Regions from separate parts of the Homo sapiens genome. Here region 2 is linked to region 1. Evidence: promoter capture Hi-C in 16 types of primary human blood cells and fetal thymus (Javierre and others, 2016). All regions are on one chromosome and are shown on one strand. The core of a region is centred on a gene start or on the middle of the fragment in contact, and the rest is flanking DNA. Distances in the headings are between cores, read along the strand shown. Region 1 holds the start of NTPCR (nucleoside-triphosphatase, cancer-related). Region 2 overlaps DISC1 (DISC1 scaffold protein).

What was found. Contacts are between HindIII fragments. The CHiCAGO score rates a contact against its expected background, and 5 or more counts as called.
Region 2: a contact is called between a fragment that was not itself captured here and the fragment with the promoter of NTPCR in region 1, in 1 of 17 cell types (total CD4 T cells). The highest score is 6.5, in total CD4 T cells.

Annotation. Positions count from the first base shown.
Region 1 is chr1:232,945,695-232,952,141 of GRCh38, forward strand. NTPCR (nucleoside-triphosphatase, cancer-related) reads left to right here and starts at 4,917. Exons shown (of 5, transcript NM_032324.3): 1 at 4,917-5,050. The coding sequence starts at 5,017. It overlaps LOC107985361 (a long non-coding RNA gene), which reads right to left and starts at 5,855. Exons shown (of 2, transcript XR_001738525.2): 1 at 5,634-5,855; 2 at 2,526-5,462. RefSeq lists enhancers at 4,639-4,738, 4,651-5,192, 5,193-5,732. The HindIII fragment of the contact is 8,064 bases long and covers 1-5,618 here.
Region 2 is chr1:231,860,850-231,867,324 of GRCh38, forward strand. All of the region lies in intron 9 of DISC1 (DISC1 scaffold protein), which reads left to right. All of the region lies in intron 12 of TSNAX-DISC1 (TSNAX-DISC1 readthrough (NMD candidate)), which reads left to right. Among named protein-coding and RNA genes, the nearest start is that of DISC2, 46 kb to the left of the region's middle. The HindIII fragment of the contact is 4,730 bases long and covers 1,292-6,021 here.

The sequences.
Region 1 (6,447 bases), core at 3,667-6,166:
TGGGGACATCACCCAAGGATGATTATCGGATGGTTACCTCAATGTACCACCTGTCCTTTAAAGCTGGGAAAGCCTGTAGGACTTTCCTGCTGCTCTGCCCCTGCTCTTTGTCTTCCCTGACAGTCCCATGCTGTCTATGGGGATATAATTCACTTATTCACTCATGTGCTTAAGAAAATATCAGTTGAGCACCTATGATAAGCATGTGCCAGTAAATGCACAAACGTTATTTCTGTAGCAGCTGGATTATTACAGCAGCATTCAGATTGGTCTTCCTGCTTCTACCATTGCCTTTCTGTAGCCAATTTCCTACACACACGACTGATGATCCTTTTAAAAGAATTTACATAATGCCATTCTTCTGGTCAAAACCCTCCAATGGCTTTCCAGCTGTTACAGTAAAAGCTAGAGTCCTCACCATGGCCTATAAGGCCTGAACCACCTGCAGCCCCTCTGACCTCACCTCCTGTGCATCTCTCTCTCCTACTCTGCTCCGGCCACACTGGTTTGCTTGGTTCCTTCTCAGGCCATGTGTTCCCACGTCACGACCTCTGCACATGCCAATGCCTCTCTCTAGACCGCCATCCCCCAGACACCGGCAGGGCTTGCTTCCTTCAACTCTCTGCTCAGATGCTGTATTCTCAGTAATATCTTCCCTGACCACCTTCTATGGAGTAGCACATCCACTTCCCTTTTCATTTCCCATCCTTTTATTTTTTCCTCCATGGCCTTACTACTCTGTGGCATTTTATTTATGTACTTGTCTGTCTGTGTCTCCCACCAGAATATAAGCTATAGCAGCACAGAGACTGTCTTCTTTGCTGCTGTATCTCCAGGACGTACATTTCCTGGTACACAGTGATGGATGAATGTGTTGTAAGTACCGTGCTATATTCTGGGTATAAAGAGATGAATAGCACAAGATTTTTTAGATTCTTTTTTTTTTTTTTTGAGGTGGAGTCTCACTCTGTTGCCCAGGCTGTAGTGCAGTGGCTCACTGCAACCTCTGCCTCCTGGGTTCAAACGATTCTCCTGCCTCAGCCTCCCGAGTAGCTGGGATTACAGGTGCCGGGCCACCACACCCAGCTAATTTTTCTATTTTTAGCAGAGACGGTGTTTCACCATGTTGGCTAGGCCAGTCATGAACTCCTGACCTCAAGTGATCTGCCCACCTTGGCCTCCGAAAGTGTTGGGATTACAGGTGTAAGCCACCGCACCCAGCCTAGATTTTTACCTTTGGAGGAGTTCATAACTGGGTGGCAGGAGAAGAGGCAGATGCCAGCAATCAGGGGGTGCTGTAAGGGAAGGCCAAGGGAGCAGAGGCTGGGCCTGGAGAATCACAAAAGCCTTGGGGAGCAGTAACAGTTGAGCCCATCCTGGAGGATGAGCAAGGAGTGACTGGGGAGAATGCGGGGGAGGCCTCTCACACCCCCTCTCACTTCCCCTTGTCCCTCTGCTTCAGTCATGGTGGCTGGTGGCTGTCCTCGATCCCCACTGGCTAGGGGTAGATGTGTTGCCCGGGTCACATGCTTCCTCAGAGTCAATCACTGAGGCTGGGAAGATAGAATGATCTCGTTGACCAGGCTTGGGTCATGTATTCCCCTTGGATAATGAGAAAGGGAGGGAGGTTCACTCCTATCAATCACAGAGCCTGGGAGAAAGGGGGTTCCTAAAAGGAGAATTTAGCTGCTATTTCCATACAGTGAAATGAACAGTGGGCTGGCCAAACAACACAATGGTCTCTCTTCCCACTTGGTTATTTTCACATCCATACTTTTTCTTTGTTCTGTTTTCAGTTTTCCTGTACTTAGGAAACTGTACCCTAAATATGCCAGAACTCTTGTTCTGTGTCCAGCCAGGAAGATGCCACAGGATGCCAGTAGCAGCTGGGCGTGGGGGACATCCAGGCATGCGGTGTAGGAAGGGGTGGGGTGAGGGTGTAGAGTCATCTCTGCTTCTGTCCTACTGGGTTACTGGCAGGATAGAACATTGTTCTGCACAGAGATTAGAACTCAGGGTATGAATGGCTCAGAGTTTAGGTACAGACTGCATTAAACAGTCATTCTATAACCACCGCTGACAAGACAACCAGCTTACAATAAAGTATTATTAGCCTTTGACTTGTTTGTAAGAAGGAATTATCTTGTTTAACCACATGAAACCTTCTGCTTTACTTCCCAAATGTTCCTTTAACAGTTTGATGACCATTCATCCTGGTTTGCTCGGGATTGAGGGGCTTTCTAAGACACAGAATTTGCAGTTTAAAAATTAGGACAGTTCTGGGAAAAGGGTAGATATGAAAACAAAATAAACAGTGTTTTTTGGACTTTAGGGTATTTTATAATTGTAGAGACTGTAGAGTTGTACCTACAAACTGTTTTAATAAAGAACTGTACTGCATCCTGTCATAAGTGAGGCTGCACCCAGGTGTTGCAGAAGAAATCTTTGGAATCACCTGTTCCTTAGGTAATTAATTCTACCTTGTGTGTTAGCTCAGGCTACTATAATAGAGTACCACAGATGAGTGGCTTAAACAAAAAAACATTTATTTCTTACAACTCTGGAGGCTGAAGTTTAAGATCAGGGTGCCAACACGACTGGGTTCTTGGGGAAGGCCCTCATCTTGGTTGACAGAGAGCAGTCTTCTCCTCGTATCTTCACATGGCAGAGAGCAGAGAGATAGAAAGCAAGTTTTCTCCCGCCTTTTTCTAAGGGTACTAATCACATTCATGAGGACTCCACTCTAGTGACCTGATTACCTAATTGCTTCTTTAAGGCCCCACACTTTAATACCTTCACCTTGTGGGTTAGGATTTCAACAATATGAATTTTGGGGGGACACAAACATCCGTCCATTGGATGTTGATTAGATAGGAAGCAAAAGTTGGATTCAGTATGGTACAGTACTTTAAGATCCCATTTATTTTAAAATTTGTTTCAATTTATGCCATCTTCTTTTGTTGTTAATCTCTAAGAGATATAAGCTATTTAATTTTTTGTTATTGTTACCTAATAACACATACAGGAAACTGTAGAAATTAAGCATCAAATCAATGAATTTTCTAACAAGAAGATATCCGTGGAACTACCATCCAAATAATTCATTTTCCATGGATAAAGTACATTCAACTATGGAGTCTTTTTTTCTGTTTTGTGAGACGTTGATTCACCATATCTGAATTCCATGTATCTTTGAGCTACTTAAACTGATGCCAGAATTCCAGGCACAGCAACAAAACAAAAGAACCCAACTTCCGGTGAGCCTTGCAAATCCAAACTGCTTTTCAGTGATGGAAAATGCTATCTGATTAACATTTAAAACGAGTACTTTTGATACAAGAGATACATATACTTTTTTCCTTTTTTTTGGAAGCTCCTCCTATGAATTTACTTTACTATATCAACTTTTCACTGTATTCAACATATATGGACTGCAAAATAAATCAAGGTGGAAGGCCCTACATTAACAGTTGGGATAATAAATAGTATACTGTTATAATAATAGAGCATTACAAATGTTGCAGAAATGATGGTGATGACAGCTATATTTTACAAATCCAACTTTGTTTTTTTAGATAATCATTGGACTGGCATATGTCTCAGGCTAAAGGGAAACCAAGAGGTCCATGTGTGGGCAGAAACCAATTAAGTTGAGCACTCACTGAACTGCTTTCTCAGCCAGGATGGGGAACGACTGACTACAAATTAAGCTGTACACATGTTAGACTGAAAGAGTTTACAGGTAAATGTGGCCCAAGGCCACTGCCACGTCATTCGTTGGCCGGAACACTTGCAGTGGTAAAGTGAGACGGAGAAGCTATTTAATTCTTTGCAAGAGGAGATCTTTATACACTTTGGTGTGAAAGTAAAGAGGGAAAACTGGGCGTCCTATGCATGGCTGAGGACGGGAAGCCTGCCTACACCAGTGGTTCTCAACCCTAGCGCACTTCAGGAACTTCCTGGAGTTTAGAAAGAAGAAAAAAGAATACAGGTGCTCAAGACTCGCTCAAGACCAATTACTCATGTTAAACAAGATTTATGGGAGGCCATTGTTTTGGACTAACCTCCTGCACTAGGTCCTAGCAGACTAGACCAAACCAGAATGGAGTCACTTGTGCCAAGTGCCATGTAACCAAACTGAACTTTGAAACAGGCCCGTTTTCCCAAAAAACAGGAGATTGTAGTTAACCTGAGTCAGTACAATAACGAAGTCCAATCTGTTTTAACCCTATAAGGAAAGTAACTTTGAAATACCCACTCTTTGTTTTGTTCTTCAGCCTTTTTTTGCCCATAAAGCCAACCTCCTCTGCACAACTCATTGGAACACTCTATTTGCTTTATGAAATGATCTATTTCTCGATTCTAGATCCTAAATATAAGCCAATTAGATCTTTAAACTAAACTTGTAATTTTGTCTTCTGACACTCCCTATTACTGCAGGTGAAACCCAGGCATCAGAGCAAGTTTAAAACTCCCCAGCTGATTCTATTCTGCAGGAATGTTTGAGAACAAAGTTGGAGTCATTAACATGGCATCCCCCTTTGAGGAATGCTTCCAGGTCACAAACCTTCTACAAAAGGGCTGTCCCGGCAGCCTTGGGCAATTTCAGCTCCTAGGTCCGGAGTCAAGGGGCAGAACTTGGGTGATGGCGCTGACTTGAAGCAGCAATAGTTTAATAACTGACGTTCTCACGCACTTATCTCTGCAAATACCCCACAAAAGCCCTGAACCCAGAATGAAACTTAAGAGACCGTACAACCCGCTCCGCCTATAGGAACTGCCGCGGCACAGGCGCCAATGCCGAGGGCTGAATGCGCAGGCGCGGACCGGGGACTCGGGAGAAGGCGCATGCGTGGTCTTGAGGGCGGTGCTTCCGGTCAAAGCACCGCTTGGGGGCGGGGCCTGCGACACGCGGTGGGCGGGTCCTGAGTCGCGACCCTGGTCCGGACCTGACCTGAATTGCGACCCCAACCTGGACTGCTCCCCTGACCGCAACCCCTACCCCCGCCCACCAGTATGGCCCGGCACGTGTTCCTAACGGGGCCCCCAGGTAACCCTGAGGGGATCCCCACCTCCAAGAGGTCGAGGGGGTGGGGGCGCGCGGGCTGCGGGCGACCTTGTGCTGTCGGGGAGGGTCTCCGGCTCCAGGGCTCCGGCCTCTGAAGTTCCCAATTTAAATGGCGGGCTTGGTAGTCTGAAGAGTTTGTACTCCTTCCCGGAAAACGTGATTTAAAAGACACAGGGCCTAAAGGATTAGAACACACTTGTGAGGGGGTCCTAGACTGGCTTCTTGATGAAGGGCAGAAACCGCAGGGGCCAGCGGCAGCGGTAACTCCTACTGTAGTGTTGACGTTGTGGTCTGCACAAATGGTATTTCAAGAGATCTGCGGCAACCGCGATGTGAAGTGGAGATGTCTAATTTCTGTTGATAGTCACAGGTATTTCCTTACTGTGGGTCTTTGCTACATTGATCGTGCAAAAAAAAAATGGTAAATTTTAGTTGGAGGACAGCGAAACTGAAGTTGTAACCTTTCTTTCCCATCTAAGTTCATCCCCCCACCCCCATCCCCATCTCCATCCCCACGAATTCCCTCCACAGCTGAGGCCAGAGGTGGAGAAGCTTTGGTACCTACAGGAGCCCTTCTCAGACACTCTTGCTTGTTCCTGTCGCTGTCCCCTCCTGATGTCTGTCAGATCCCTCAACCCTGTGGCCTGTGGAGTTCTCATCTGAGAAGCAGGATAGCGTTGAGGTCAGATGAGAGGTGTAGGAGGAGGTGCTTTTAAACCAAGGCGCTACCCATGTATCAAGCATTACTAAAAAGGACAGGTAGGCTGCATCAGATAGGCTAAAAAAAGATAGATGGGCTAAGAGTGGAGAAAGTGATTTCTTCAGCTCCTTTGCAAGGCAAATCTAATTTTGAAGTTTAGTGTGGGTTCAGATATCAAAGGCTGTAACCCTGGATCTAGAATTCTCTTTCACTTTATTTTAATGATTATGTTTAGTTGTAAGTAGCAAAGGCTACAGCTAATATTGCAGACTTTGGGATTTTGTCAGGCATTGGATGGGGGAGTTGGGGAGCAGGGGGTGAGGAGGAGGAGGGTGGTTTGAGAAATGCCTGCTATCTAAAGTCACTCCTAAGTATTGCAAAGAACTGTTTTCTGAAAGTTGGTTTGTCAATCCTTTATTTGAAACTTGGAATGCAGTTTGATACTCAGCAGGCTGACCCCAAGACAACTGTGTGTTTTATTAATGGAGGTGTCCTGTTACCGTGATTGTATTGATGGTGGTTCTTGTTTCTGCTTTATCAAAGTCTTACCTACACGTAGTTGAAAGACTCAAATAATTCTACAGTGTAGCTCTCTTAAACCTGTCCTCAAACCCACGCACCTTTGTCTTTTCTCCTTCTCTTCTTAATGTAGTTACAGCGTAATTTTCATTAGTCAATG
Region 2 (6,475 bases), core at 2,407-4,906, 1.1 Mb before region 1:
TAATCTAAGCCAGTTTCATCCTCTTGCAATACAGTAACCTGTGTCAGCAGAGTCCTGTGTGGGATGAGTTTGGCAGAATTGCAGACTGCATTTTTGGACCTAGCAGTTGAAGATGATTCTGTCCCTCATCAATTTTTTTCCGCAAGGGCACTTTTGCCTTCAAATGGTATTGTGTTTTTCTATTTCCTTTATCTAAAGAAAGTCTTCAACTTAGTTTTGTTCTGTTCCTGTGAATGTCGGCACAGGAAAGTCCTTGAAGAACATGAGAAACAGGAGCTTCATCTGGGCTCTGTGATGGTGCCGTTGTATGAATTGAAATCCATCAGGGTGGGACTGGTTATCTGTCTAACAAAGATGCAATGAGACATGATTGAGAGTGTGCTTCGGGTGGAGTGTTTCTTACATTTTGAGGTTAAAAGCCTTTTCTGTCATTGTTTTTATTATTTATTTATTTATTTTTATTAGAGATGGGGTCTTGCTACATTGACCAGGCTAGTCTTGAACTCCTAGCCTCAAGCAATCCTCCCCCACCTTGGCCTCCCAACGTGCTGAGATTACAGGAGTGAGCCACCGCACCCAGACTCTGTCATTGATTTTGACAAGTTTTTTTTTTTTTTTTTTTTTTTTTGGTTGTTGTGGTTTTGGAAGTTTTTTCTCAGAAAGGACATACTTGACTGAATTTTTCTCAGAGCCTAATTATTATTTAGTTATTTGTATTTATTTCTTTTTGATTTCACTACAGTAGCCACTATATCTTGAGTAAATTTAGCTTTTAACTTGCTTTATGTTTTGGTAGATCTTAGTGATTATGCAATTTGATGATGCCATTCAATATCAAGGTCAGACCACAGCATGTACAAGAGGTTGCTGTCACGTGATAGTTTTCCATTTTCATCTCTTAGTATGCTCTCTTATTTCTTGCTTTGCTCATTCAATGAATGTTTTAAGAGTCTGATTGAGATATTACCTCATAGTAGATTACTTTCCCATTAATGTTTGCTCACTCATCTGTAGGCCTAGGAAGCTTTATATCTATTTACAACAGCGACTAGGACCAATAGTGTGCTGTTAAATGCTTAGGAACCAGTTCTCCAGGAAAAAAAAGTCCTGATTGGCAACGTCTGGCCATTTCCATAGTGTAAATCTCCCACTGTGGCTGATTTCCAGCTATTTCTGGTTTAACAAGTGGCTCACAAAATTCTTGAAAGTTTATCAACTGGCTTTCACCAGGAGGATGGCTCCAGCACCCACCACACCTGACAACAGTTATATTACTTTACGGATGATAAAAAGCTTTATCATCGTTTTATTTCATTTCTGATTTACAAAACAACCCTGTAGAGTAGGTGGTGTTATACATGAGGCATCTGAGACTCAGAGGCCTAAGTGGCTGGAAGTAGCTCCAGCAGCTATTATTAGGCAGAGCAGAGACGGAATGCTGCCTCTGAGCTGAGCATTCTTGGTGTTCTCATCACTCATGGCAACTGTTTCCCATTGTGAGGATTCCCTTAGTGGTGTCATATTTGGACTCCAAAGAAGTATACTCAAGAAATGACTACTTCGATGGTTTTAGCAGATAATTTTTAGTTATTTGAGGATAAGAATAATAGTCTGCTTATGAAAGAACTTGGTAAATTTTTTTCTTCTGGTTTTCAGACACCATTTCTGTCTTAAAATGAAGTATCTGGTGTATGATTGCTTTGTAATATTTTGTTACTTAAGGGTGGTATCCAGACAACCCTTAGTTAATGTTATAGAATCAGAACTAGAAAGACCTCTTCATTCTTCACTTAGAGAGGATTTAAGTGTCTCTGGCCATTTATTGGGTTAATAATGGTGACTTCAGGTGACCCAGGAAACATCTGGATATCTTTGCTGCACTTGGAAAGACATTTAGTTTGGTAATATTTTCAAATCATGTGATCATTTCAAAATGACTTGCACCATGGAGTGATGATGTGATGCTGGCAGCAGCTGCTGTTTGCTGGAGATTTCGTGTGTCAGGCACAGTTGGGAATACTTTATGAATATTAGTTTATTTCTCACCTTGAAGGTAGACATTGTTCTCAGTTTGTTGAAATCGAGGCTCATGTAAGTAAAAAATGCCCACATTCATAGCAAATAAGTGACAGAGTTAGTCTCTGACTCTGCAAAGGACTTATATGGCTTTTGTATAATAAAGTCGGTCACCCCATTTTGGTAATAAAAGGGATAATAAAAGACCAACATGTCTTCATTAGCTTGCAGATAAGCTCCAAGTTTCAGCACGTGCATAGTTTGTAATGCCTTCACAGGGTCTGCAGGCTCATTGCCATGAAAATATAGAACTAACAAGAATTTAGTTTTGATTGACATAGTTTATAAAATGTTCTTTTTTTTTTTTTTTTTTTTTTTTTTTTTTTTGAGACAGGGTCTCTGTCGCCCGGGATGGAGTGCTGTGGTGCGATCTTGGCTCACTGCGGTCTCTGCCTCCCAGGTTTAAGCAATTTTCCCACCTCAGCCTCCACAGTTGCTGGGACTGCAGGTACCCGCCACCATGCCTGGCTAATTTTTGTACTTTTAGTAGAGAAGGGGTTTCACCATGTTGGCCAGGCTGGTCTTGAACTCCTGGCCTCAAGCAATTTCCTTGCCTTGGCCTCCCAAAGTGCTGGGATTACATGCGTGAGCCACCGCGCCTGGCCTAAAACATTCTTTTAACAAAAGCATAGCTTTATGTTGAATTCAGGTAGATTCGAACCATTGCTTTTAATAACACAATATGGGTTCTTTCAGACTCTTGGGGTAGATTGAACTTCTCATAAAACTGTCATGGGACAGATTGCAACTTCTTTCCAATATCAGAATCTCTAGGTGAGTTCATCCATTTCTTTGCCCTGGGCTTTTTAAGAAAGTAGGGCAATGAGTCCCTGGTTTCTCATCTCCGTAAGAATGAAAGGATGCTGGAGCCAAGGTCTAGTCTACTGCCAGTTTCTCCAGGAACAATGTGGAGGAAAAGGACCAGTGTAGATCAGAAGTCCATGAGCGGAAACTCAGAATCAAAGCGGTTATTCAATTCTTCTTTTCTTGGAGGAAATCACTGTGTCGCCTGAAGAGAAAAATGCCCTTTGCTCTTGCACTGGGGAGTTCTGTTTAGTGCCTTTCCACACAAAAGGGCTGTACTGGCTGGTACTATAGACTTTTTTTATGAAGATCTTTTTCATAAATCCTTTTGCAGAGTATAGCCAGGTAGCAGTATATGAACATTGGAAGTGAAACAGTTTTCGTCACACAAAATTAACAATAAAAACACATGCAACTCATCATTTATAAAACGATACTTGCAATTTTTCATTATTCTCATTTCTGAGGGCAAATTTTCAGATGAAAACAGAAAGGAATTTTAGAAGTTTTCATTTTTTTTTCCTACATCAGGCTTCCCTATATGTCGTCTGTATAACAAGCACCTTGATCTTTCATTCAGTTATAAGAGGCTCATAAGCGTTGCCTCTGTTTTCTATATATTGGTAGTGTCATTAGAAAACCTGAGGGGGTGGGCCGGGCGCAGTGGCTCACGCCTGTAATCCCAGCACTTTGGGAGGCCGAGGTGGGCAGATCACGAGGTCAGGAGATTGAGACCATCCTGGCTAACACAGTGAAACCCCGTCTCTATTAAAAATACAAAAAATTAGCTGGGTGTGGTGGTGGGCGCCTGTAATCCCAGCTACGCAGGACGCTGAGGCAGGAGAATGACATGAACCCGGGAGGCAGAGCTTGCAGTGAGCCAAGATCGCACCACTGCACTCCAGCCTGGGTGACAGGGAGACTCGTCTCAAAAACAAAATAAAACAACAACAACAACAAAAAAATCTGAGGAGGTGGACACCATTTTTTGGTACTGAACGACGTGATGACCGTTTAAAAAGAAAGGTAGATGTTAAGAAGGCTTCCTTATACAAAAATTCTTGTATATTGTTCCTTCCAATTTTATTTTTGTTTTGATATATAAAATCCTATGTTAAATCTCTCATCCTGAATATCAGATTACTCCAGAAGGAGAAAGTAGCAGTCTAATTATTTTATTTGGTTGCATGGTAGTCTTAGTACAATTAAATCTCCTTTGAAAGTTTCTCAGTTATGTAGTTATGAATAGCACTCCACACCACGGCTGTGGTAGACCTGGAGCGGTATTGGGCCCAGGTCACAGAATGATCACGGAAGGACTTTAGAGATCACCTATTGAGTCCCTGTTTTAGAGAGGAGCAAGCAAAGGCCCAGAGAACTCACTCCATTTGCCGAGGTCCGACAAGTGTGTAGGTGAGCTGGAGCCAGAACCCTGTCTTTCGGTCTTCACTCTAGAGCTCTTTCCAAACAAACATGCTGACCTGGGAGTCTGACAATTGCTGTATGCTGATGTTTCCTATTTGAAGTCCACATGTCTTTGCAGGGGAAGAGAACTGTCTAGTATCATTCGTTAATGCCCACTCTTCATGTTTGCCAAAGACCACCAATACATTGGGCAGTGATTGTGTTACACTGGTTTGTTTATATGTCGGCTTTCAGTGATGCCAGAAAATCAAAAGGAGGTTAAGAAATCCCAGAGGTTCACCCAGGATGGGAGGCTAAACCTTTGTTGTATTATGAGTCTTAATTCAAGATAACATAATCTTTAGCCTAATAAACATTAGGTTGAATTTTGAAAATGTAAACACTAACTGATCTGTAGACTGACGTCTATTTCCTTGGCAATATTGGCCACACCCATTAAATAATAACTTCTCATTCTCCCTTCCCCCAGCCTCTGGCAACCTCTGTTATACTTTCTGTCTCTGAATTTGACTACTTTAGGTGCCTCATATAAGTGGAATCACATGACATTTGTCCTTTTGTGATACGATATTTTCTTTAAAAAGAAAATGAACAGAAACAGTACATGAGAGAAGTCAGGTCTGCAGCCAGTGTGCCTCTTAGTTCCATATTCATACAAGGCCCTCTTGGAAGCTCAGCTTTGGAGTTGGATATTATCTCAGAAGATATGGCAGCTTAGGAATCTGGTACTCTAAAAACAGATTTACAAGCATTAGACTTTTTTGTATATGTGTGTGGTCATTTTAGTCTTCCTGAAAGTGGTTAAGACCAATATTTCTAGGCAGACTATAGTTCACATCATCCAGTTCTGTAAGTCTTGGATTATCGATCTCATTGTCATGGCAAAAAAGGACAGGGATTACTCAACTCATTACTCCTGTGTCCAGACCTCTGAGCCTGGTGTGTGTGTGTGGCTCAGTGCCTTTCCCATAGTGGCCCACATCCCCCCAGGGCCCTGCATGAAGTTCCTGCAAGTCTACCCCCTGCACGTGCAGAGCAAAAAGAGCTTCCTATGGGAGCTGTTCTCCAGAAAAGACAGAAACCCGGGCCCTAGAGAACCAGAAGATTTAAATTCCAGTTTCAGCTCTGCCATTGACTAATTAGGCAACTGTAGGCAGTTCACTTTGCTCCTTTGGACCAGAGATTTCTCATCTACAAAATGAAAAACTTGGATTTAATTATCTCTGAAGTCACTTCAAGCAGAAATGTAACAATTCTTTGATTTATTAAAAAAAATAACATCAATGATAATGACCAACAGCTAACACTTATTACAAGGCTCCAGGCACTTTCGAAGTCCTTAATATTTAATGTTCACTACTACCTTAGGATATAAGTACTGTGATGCAGAGTCCTGGACACAGAGAAGTCAGCAACTTGCCTGAGGACAGCCTGCAGGACACAGCACTGTGATTTGAACCCAGAGAGTCTGACTTCAGCCCCCAGCGCTCAACTACTATTAATTGAAAGGGCATTGAAGAGACATGATGTCACAATAAAAAGAAAAAAAGAAAAGAAAGCATGTCTTCGACTTTCTAGTCGTCGTGCTTTGTATGGATTCTTCTTTCAACCTTGACGAAAGGGTATAATTAATCTGTAATTAAAGTCATGATAGTTTCTTAATACGAGGAAATGTTGTCATTGCGGTTCTCTGAACACAAGAGGGCGCTGTGGCAAAGCTTACCGTCTGCTCATCCTCTGCCGCAGGAGGGTACAACTTCGTGGGACAAACTTCAAAAGAAAGATGCCATTTCTAAGACCTCATTTATCACCTCGGGATAGCCAGTCTTCATGCCTTTAAAATACAGAATAAAAATAACACATAAATCAACACAATTACATTCCTTCTTGATAGCATCACCAGTCTTCTTGAGGCCTGGCGTCAAACCTCTGCTTCAGTGTTACGTTATGGGGTGCGCATGCCTCCTTAATACCCACCTTGCTGGTATTCTCCAGATGGCTGTCTTCTTAGCAGTAGATGGAATTAAGCACCATAATGAGGGATATTTTATTTAAATCTGCTTTAAAAAAATCTTCCATGACTTATTCACATGTCTGGTTAGCTATCACACTGCCATTCCATGTGATCGGAAATGAGAAAGATTTAAAGAAAGTAATTGTTTAGCATGCA